Linked DNA regions of Homo sapiens: region 2 is linked to region 1. Evidence: promoter capture Hi-C in 16 types of primary human blood cells and fetal thymus (Javierre and others, 2016). All regions are on one chromosome and are shown on one strand. Each heading gives the region's core, a stretch centred on a gene start or on the middle of the fragment in contact. The rest is flanking DNA. Distances are from core to core; before and after follow the strand shown.

Region 1 (4,903 bases), core at 1,949-4,448:
TCCAAATTCTGACCTGTACTGTAAGTGTCCTGGGCCATTTCCCTCACTTCCCCCTCCAGTGTTGCTCCATTGCAACTCACCTTCCCACTGTCATGGCCAACAGTTCAGGCATGCTCAAAACATCATTCACTGCATCATCTCCAGCTTAGAATCAAACTCTTTTGCCTGTTTCCCACCCTCCTCTGGGGCCCTGGATCCTTTTATAATCCCTAACACAGGATGTGATCTCATGTCTCTGTGTTGAAACACAGGGCATTTGCATTTTCTGGAATATCTTATCTCCAGAAACTGATGTTAACTATTCAAGCTTGGCCCACAAAAGAAACCTCTTATAAGAAGTCTCTCCGCCGGGTGCAGTGGCTTACACCTTTCATTCCAGCACTTTGGGAGGCCAAAGTGGGCAGATCATGAGGTCAGGAGATAAAGACCATCCTGGCCAACATGGTAAAACCCCATCTATACTAAAATACAAAAAATTATCCGGGCGTGGTGGTGTGTGCCTGTAGTCCCAGCTACTCGGGAGGCTGAGGCAAGGGAATCACTTGAACCCGGGAGGGGGAGACTTTCCCAGAAGTGTTCCTTCTAACCTCCAGAGCAGTCTGCTCAAGCACCTCTAAGTTATTTTTTTGAATCATAAGAGTAGTTATATGGAAACAAGTTGAGTCTCTCAGGAAGTCCTCCTCAAGAGAACATTCTTGAAATGTGTTCAAATTTCATTTGGAGAAGATACCAGGTGCTATTTAGCAGAAATGGCAAAACAGCTCTTCCTGGCCTGTATACCCTACCCAGCAAAACAAAATTCTCAGAGTTAACTGCAGCAAGCCTCAGATCCCTAGGCCTTTTCACTGGCCATCTCAAGTGGCTTATCAAAGTACAGTATTCCTTCCAACTTGCTTTAACGGAAGTTCTGATAATTACAGTTTTACTCAAACTTCCAGCGATGCTGTGATGCCTCAGTGATGTTTTGGAGAGAAACATACAGATTATTTCTATTTATATATGTGTGTATCCACACACACACATACACACATATATATGTAAAACAAGTCATATTTGTTTGCATGTTCCCACTAGCTTATACAGTCCTTGAGGTCAGGGCCTTTATATTTATATTTACAAAATTTAATCTTTGTATTTGCAGCAACTAACGCGGTGCCTGGAACATAATGTAAGCCTGTAAGCCCTATATTTATCAATTGTATGACTAGCACATTCTTCTCCCACAAGGCTTTGCATGTATGGTTTACACAAAGAGTTGCTTTATGAAAATAGTTATATTTTAACAGTCCACAAGAGTCAAGCTTAAGTGGACTGTCATTTAATGGTATAAAATAGTAGCAACCACTGGTTTCTTCAAATTTCATTAGCAGTAGGTCAACCCATTCAGTTATTTAACCTTTGGCACATTTGCCCTGGCCTTGAATTGCACAGCAAGCATGGTTTTCATAGCTCTACAATCTAATTCTGAACTGTCATCCTAAAATCTAGATAAGACTCCTTGAGTATGCAAGCACTGACTATACATTCCTCAGTTGACTAAATCTTCCAGAGAGAATGCTTTAACTGGCTGACTAATTTATAGTGTGTAATGCTGAAATGAAAGCAAGTGTTTAAAAGGAAAGTAAGGCCAGGGGAGACTGAAACTAGTAGTTCTCACTTGCTTGCATCCTACAGTGAGTATTCCATTATGTGAGTGTTTTATACATTTAGGCAAGCTAAAAAGACATGAAAGTCCTTAAATAAAAGAATCCACCAAAACATCACTGATTCCAGACCCTTCTTAAATATTATCGTGTATACCAGCTTTATTATTTAGCTCTGCAATACTGCTAAATTGGTCAATTACTTCCCTGCCTCCCCACCCTCCAACTGAATTCTCACCACCCTTGAGGGAAAACAGTCTGGGTTCCCTGTGGAACATCATTTCTCAAAACTGTATTTTGGGGCTTGCTTTCTCATTTTTCCTTTCCATTTCAGATATCCTTACTGCTGTCTTTGGGCTCTTTAAACACTGCCTTTTTTCCTTTTTCGATCACACCCAAAAACTTTTCTCAAAAATTACATGTAAATTTAAAAATTTACAAATTAAATTTAAAATTGAAATTTTAAAAATCCCGACTCTCCCTAATTTCAGGAAGCATGCATTTATTATACATAACAAGACGTGAAAGCCGCAAGAGTTTCAGCCTAAACACTGAAGACCCCGCGAAGTGAATCCAGCTGCTGCTCTACAAGCAGCAACAACAACTGGGAAGCCTTCTCAGCTACACTTCGGGGCACTGGTCCAACCCCACGCAAAATCCCTCGTTTCCCTTAGCGTGGTAAGACGGAGCCTGACCTGAGCTCCAACTGTCCTATCTTTTTCAAATGTTTCAAACTTACTGCCTTTGTTCAGCAGAACCACGGGCACGGTGATGATGGTGACAAGCGCAGCAGCACCCAGCAGTCCCAGAAGAACCTTCCACGGTGTCTGCAAGCCGAGCAGATCAAGTCCAATTAGAGGGAAGCGTGTGGCCCCAGTTTCCGTAGGAGGGTCGGGGCTGCTCCAGAGGCAGCAGGATTTGCAGGTGGGAGTGCGTTAGAAGAGGGAGACCGCGGGCTGGGGGTGGGGGTGGCGTCTGGAGTGCGCCAGTTGGAGTTCTCTAAGGCGGGTGCCCTTGAACTTGTGCCTTCAGAGCACATTAGCGTTGGTTTCTCTACCCCTGCCCGGGTTCGGGCGTGCGTTCTGTGAGTGGCTCTCCGGGACATTCAAAGCTCGACGCCAGGGTCCTAGCAGAAGCCAGGGTCCGAAAGCTAAGCGAGAGCTCTGGGACGTCCCTTCACCTGTCAGAGGGTGGCCTTGGGGCTTCCGCCTAAGGGGAGTCCCTGGTCCGGTTTCGCCAGCTTTTGGGCCATTTGGGGAGTTTGGCGAAGAGGTCCCCACAGCTCGCCCCGGGGACGTACGTGGCGCGGCACTCACCTTCATCGTCGGCGTCTCCTCGGAAGTGAGCGTTCAGAGAAGGAGCGCAGGCAGAAGTCACCGCGGGCGGCGGAGACGCGCGTCCTGCACCGCTGCTCCGGGCGGTGGAGTCACTCGCCGCTGGCAAGTTTCGGCCCCGAGTTAAACATTAGTGAGCGCCGAGCCCGCTGGGTATAAAGGCGCCGCGGGCAGGCTGCAGGGCAGGCGGCGCGGGAGCAGGCGCGCGTGGCGCGGGGCACTGGCATCCCGGCCGGGGGGAGCCCGCGAGGGCCCCCTGAGGGCGGTGTAGGGCGCTGGGCGGCAGCCGGGGCGCAGAGTGCGGGGCCCGGAGGAGCCGTGGGGGAGGGGAAAGGGCGCGCGGCCTCGGATGCGCAGACCCTGGGCCGGCGACTCGGGGACCCTGCTCCCTCTTAGCTAAAAATGACGTCGGCGTTCAGCTCCTCCAACCTCACGTGGACAGGCGAGGGAACCGAGACCCAGAGAGGGCAGGGGACTTTGGCAAACTCACACAGCCCACCGCAGGCAACTGGAACTGAAACCCAGGACTCCGTCTCTTGCCAGTGAAAGTTATGTTAGGAAGCAGTGAGGGGTCTAAAGCAGTATGAAAGGCAAAGAGAAAAGGTGATTGTTCCCTCTTGAATGGCCCTTGGAAGCTGAGTATCTGGATTCACCCTCCCTAGGGAATTTCCCGATTGTCTTGCAGGCTTACACACTCATCAAGATGACAAAAATAATGACAGTAACACTTATGTGGAACTTGACTTTTTCCCAGGTGCTGCTCTAAGCATTTACTGTGTTTGTTTTACAGGAAGGAAGACTGTACACAGAGAATAAATAACTTGGCCAAGCCATTCAGCTAGGAAGTTGTAGATCCTAAATTAAGAGTTCAAGGTCTTAATGGCTACTCTATGCGGCCTCTCATAGTCTTTTCAAGGGTTTTGGAGAAGAATAAAAGATCAGGTATGGCTTCTCCCTCCCCCAGCTCTCTATTGTTCCCTAAAGGATTATTCATTCGTTCATTCATTCCTACATCCTCCCATTTATTCCAGTCATCCACAGATGTTTGAGTGGTTACAATGTGCCAGCCTCCCTTCTAGGTACTGGAGATAAAGTGGGACAAGAGAGGTGAGGTCTGGACCCTTGGCACTTTCACGATAAAATACACAGGTAAACATTTGCCTTTAGGGCCCCCTGTGATTACTTCCACTCTTGCAGATAAGAGGATAAGGCCTCTTCAGCTTGTTCACAGCAGCTGAAAAGCAAAGCCTCTCTGTCAGTAGAGGTAAAAGATTAAGAATGCAGAGTCCGATGGGGCATTACCACATGATTATGAATTAATGCAATTTTCCATCTTTTATTTCCAATCCAGGCATTGCTTTTGAACTCAGTCATCTTTTCCCCCTTGCCCACTAGTTGCTTGTGATACATCAGTATCCTCACTCACCCCCAACTCCAGAGGCTGAAACTAACTCTCCTCCTCCCTCTTCCAACTGCTGAGGAAGATGAGTCAATGGTGTTACTGGACCCTGTGAACTGATGCTGTGAAGAGAGGCCATTTAACACGGACTACGGGGAATGGTGCCACAGGGGGCTCAGTGCTGCCCTTCACTCTCAGCATTTTGCTCACTCAGCATTGGTAAGCCACATCAGCCTCGGTGAAGGAAGTCTGGAGAGTTAAGCCTGTGCTTCATCTCCATGCCAGCACCATGGCACTCATTGTACATTCAGCAAGCCCCAAGGAAGCTGGCAGGAGGCTGGCTGACATCTACGGGACAGGTCAATTTGTTCTCTGGAGGGCACTCCATGAGACGCAAATATCTTCACACCCTGTGCCCATTTCAAGAGACTCTCTCACATGCCTCCCCCACCTTGACCTCTGTGTCACCAGTCTTTCAATCTTGTTTTTTCCAAATCCTTAAGGTAGCAGCTGGCCAACACATTAGC
Region 2 (4,384 bases), core at 505-3,004, 500 kb before region 1:
TCCTGAAAGCACTAGGATTACAAGAATGAACCACTACCCCAACCTGTATTTTGTTGTTGTTTTAAAATCCATTCATCCACTGTTTTTTTAATTAGTGATATGGGATAGGGGGCAGGGAAATGCTAGGAGAAGGGTGGGGTCCCTGGCCAGCACTCCGCCCCGGGTCTGTGCCCACGGACCTAGGTAAGGACAGGCATTTCTGTTTTCGTGCCCAAATGTTGAATTTTCCAAGACCACCCTGGTCTGCTATGCCTCCATCCTGTTCCTGTAAAAACCCTGAGACCCTAGTGGGCAGAGATGCAAGTGGCTGGACATTGAGAGGATCACACTGGTGGAACACACAAATGGTTGGACGTTGAGAAGATCACATTGGCTGAAGAGCACGCCGACAGGCACCAACAGATGCTGGCAGGCCATCAACCGGCGCAACAATGCGGACCTGAGGGGAATTTGGCTGGAGCGGTTGGAGAGTCTGGCCGCTGGGCACACCGACTCCAGGGGAAAACCACCTTCCCACTCCATTCCCCTTCTGGCCTCCCCATCCACCTCGCTGAGAGCTACCACCACTCAATAAAAAACCTTGCAGTCATTCTCCAAGCCCATGTGTGATCCGATTTTTCAGGTACACTAAGGCAAGAACCCGGGATACAGAAAGCCCTCTGTCCTTGCGATGAGGCAATTTGCGCTGATTAACACAAGCCGCCTTTGAAAGGCTACACTGAAAGAGCACACTGTAACACATGCCCACTGGGGCCTCAGGAGCTGTAAACATTCACCCCTAGACGCTGCCATAGGTCAGAGCCCACATTCCCCATGACCTGCCCATCTTCCTGCTCCCCCTAGGGGTTTTGAGCAGCAAGTCATGAAGAAGCGAGCCACACCCCCATCACACGCCCTGTGTGGGGAACAAGGGAACTTTTCCTATTTCAACAGGACTTAAATTTACCCTATATTTTTTGTTTTATGTTTGTTCTCTTAGCTGTTTTCTTCTTCTTGTCTTCTAGTGGGTTGCTTGAACAATTTTTAGTATTCCATTTTGTTTTATTTATAGTGTTTTTGAGTGTATCTCTTTGCATAGTTTTTTTAAAAAAGTTTGCTTTAGGTGTTGCATCATATATAGTTTATCACAATCTACTGGCATCATTATTTTACCAGTTTGCATAAAGTATATAAATGCTACCTCCATCCCTTTCCTCTCCTTTGTTTATAATTGTCATATTTACTCTACATATACATTTAGAACCACATAATAGAGTCTTATAATTTTTGTTTCAATGTTCTATCATAATTTAGAAAACTCAAGAGGCAAAGGAAAGCCCATTTTATTCGCCCATATTTCTGTTGCTACATCCTTTTTTCGTTTCTGATGTTCCAAGCTTCCTTCTTTTAACATTTGTGTTTAGAGAGCTTTTTTAAAGCTATTATTTTAGGGTAGGTCTACTTTTGAAAAACTATCATAATTTTCCTTTATCTGAGAATGTACTGCTTTCTCCTTAATTCCTGAAGGATAATTTCATTGGGTGTAAAGTTCTGGGTTGACAATTCTTTTCACTTGAAAGATACTGTGCTACTTCTTTCTGGCCTCCATGGTTTTTCCAGGGAGAAACTCACTGTTATTCAAATTGCTTTCCCCTACATATAAGGTGTCATGGCTGCTTTCAACACTTTGTCTTTAGTTTTCATAATTTTAATTATGGTATGTCTTCCTGTGTATTATTTTATTATCTTGTTTGGGGTTCAGTCAGCTTCACGAATTTGTAGTTTTGTGTTTCTTGCTAAATGTGGGAAGTTTTCAGCCATTAGTTCTTTAAGTACTTTTTCATCCCTGCCCTCATTTTTCTCTCCTTCCAGGGCTTCAATGGCACAAATATTACATTTAAAAAATACTTCCAAAGGTTCCTGAAGCATGTTCACTTTTTTCAAGTCTTTTTTCCTCTGTGTTGTTCAGATTGAGTAATTTGCATTGTTTGCTCTTTCTGTTCATCATTTCTTTCCTCTATTTCCTCCATTCTGCTGTTGAACTTATTCACTGAGCCTTTTAAAATTTCAGTTACTATTATCTCTCAGTTCTAAATTTCAGTTTGGTTCTTTATATCTTTCATTTATTTGTTGAGACATTCTTTTTCTTTGCTAAAGCTTTTTTTTTTCATTTTTTCAAGCCTGTTTGTAATTACTCATTGAAATATGTTTATAATGGCTGCTTTAAAATCTTTGTTAGGTAATTCTAGCACCTCTATCATCTGTTGTTGGCATCTATTACTTTTTTTCACTCAGTAGAGACCTTCTGGTTGTTAGTGTGACGTGTGATTTTTATGTTTGTTCTCTGGACATTGAAATCTGGACATTTTCATATTATGTTATGAGACTCTAAATCTTATTTAAACCTTCCCTTTTGATTGCACTTCTCTGACACCACTCTAGTAGTGGAAGGAGGGAGGTGCCACCTTGTTAATATCAGGTGGAATGGAAGTCTAGGTTCTCCAATTGGCCTTGCTGACACTTGAATGGGAGGGACTCCTTATTACTGCTGGGTGAGGGTGGGAATTCTGGCTCCCCACATGGTCTCCATTGACACGGTGGTGGGGGTGGCCTCATTATTGCTGGGTGATGGTGAAAGTCTTGATTCTTTAGTAGGCCTCCTCTAACACTACCTCAGTGGGGTGAGGAGGGTGCCTCATTACTGCTTGATGGGGGTAGAAGTTCTGGCTCCTTGTGTGGTTTTTACTCACACTGCAGGGAGGAGGAGATCATGTTATTGGCCAGTTGGATGAATGTCCTCACTCCCTACTTGGCTTTCTTTGATACCACTCTGGTGAGGGGGTTGGAGCATCTCATTACTGTCTCATGAGGGTGGAAGTGTAGGCTCCCCACGTGGCCTTCATTGGCATGGATGGGAGTGGAGCAACAGCTTTTTCCTTGGGGTTAGGCTGGAATAGAGCACTTCTTGTCTAAAAATTTTCTGTCTGACTAGGCCACCGTTTTCCTGGCCTTCAGCTAGAGAGAACAAGCTTTCGTTCAGGCTATTTTGCCCATGCATGTTGGTGTTTTCATGTTTCTGGCTTCTTCAGCTGCAGGTCTCAGATATATTAGGCAAAAATGAATTCCAAGCAACACATGACCATGTTGTTCTTTGGGTTTTGATGTTCCTAGCAAGCAATCTTCTCTCCACCTTTCAGAGTCTTCCTGTGTTTGCCTTACATATTATGTCCAGGGTTTTTAGTTTTACCTAATAGGTGGAATAAAGAAAAGTACATTTATTTCATCTTCCTGGAATAATGTGTCTTATAGAAAAGATCTTTTATTTGCTGCTGAGGTTAGGAGTTTTAGTGGATGAGAATGGGGTAGTTGAGGGGAGGAGGAAGAGAAAGGAGAGGAAAGAAAAACAGGTTCTACCACTCCTAAAAATCTCTATGAGTCCTGATTGAATATTTGTTCATTCATTCATCATTCAGCAAACATTTATAATTCAACACTGCATGCCTACGAGTGTAATTGGTGCTAGGAACACAAGGATAAGTAAGATTAATTTTTGCTTATTAGGAGTTTGAAATCTAGTCTTGTAGAGGCTAACACCCAAATAAGCAAATTATTACATGTTGTAATAAGTGAACTGTGTCCTGAAGTATGAGTAGAAGTTCTCTAGGTTAGCTAAAAAAAAGATGATTTAGACAAAAGAAATGGCTTGTTTGAAGGCACGGAAGCATAACATTTTTTTGGATTTAAAGAATGGCATGCATTGGTGTGAAAAGAGTAAGGGGTTCTTATGAATGAATGGTGGGAGATTAGACTGAAAATATTGGTTAGGACCAGATTGTTGAAGTCTTTAATATATTGTCATGCTAAGGATGTTTTACACTTCTTTTTTTTTTTTGACAGGGTCTCACTCTGTTGCCCAGGCTGGGGTGCAGTGGCATGCTCTAGGCTCACTGCAGCATTGACCTCCCAGGCCCAGGTGATCTCTCCACCTCAGCCTCCCCAGTTGCTGGGACTACAAGCATGCGCCACCGTGCCTGGCTAATTTTTTGTATTTTTTGTAGAAATGGGGTTTTGCCATGTTGCTCAGGCTTGTCTTGAACTCCTGGGCTCAAGCAATCCACCCACCTTGGCCTCCCAAAGGGCTGGGATTACTGGTGTGAGCCACTGTGTCCGGCTGATATTTTACACTTTCTGCAGGCAATGGTGAATAATCTCTAAACTATTTTAGTGGATATTTAAAATAACGACTTTTGGGCACAACCTGAGACCTGTCCTCTCGCTTTCCTCCCTGGACAGCATGAGCTTCACCACTTGCTTCACCACCTTCTCCACCAACTACCAGTCCCTGGGCTCCATCCAATCACCCAGCCACAGCGTCCAGCCTGCCAGCAGTGTGGTTAGCCTCTAT

The links. Contacts are between HindIII fragments. The CHiCAGO score rates a contact against its expected background, and 5 or more counts as called.
Region 2: a contact is called between a fragment that was not itself captured here and the fragment with the promoter of DPP4 in region 1, in 2 of 17 cell types (non-activated CD4 T cells and M2 macrophages). The highest score is 6.2, in non-activated CD4 T cells.

What each region holds. Positions count from the first base shown.
Region 1 is chr2:162,071,017-162,075,919 of GRCh38, forward strand. DPP4 (dipeptidyl peptidase 4) reads right to left here and starts at 3,199. Exons shown (of 26, transcript NM_001935.4): 1 at 2,960-3,199; 2 at 2,383-2,470. The coding sequence starts at 2,965. DPP4-DT (DPP4 divergent transcript) reads left to right here and starts at 3,841. Exons shown (of 3, transcript NR_147697.1): 1 at 3,841-3,919; 2 at 4,462-4,595. RefSeq lists enhancers at 2,718-2,917, 3,352-4,049, a silencer at 3,068-3,327 and a promoter at 3,604-4,903. The HindIII fragment of the contact is 4,875 bases long and covers 1,300-4,903 here.
Region 2 is chr2:161,575,799-161,580,182 of GRCh38, forward strand. It overlaps the pseudogene KRT18P46. Among named protein-coding and RNA genes, the nearest start is that of SLC4A10, 46 kb to the right of the region's middle. The HindIII fragment of the contact is 760 bases long and covers 1,375-2,134 here.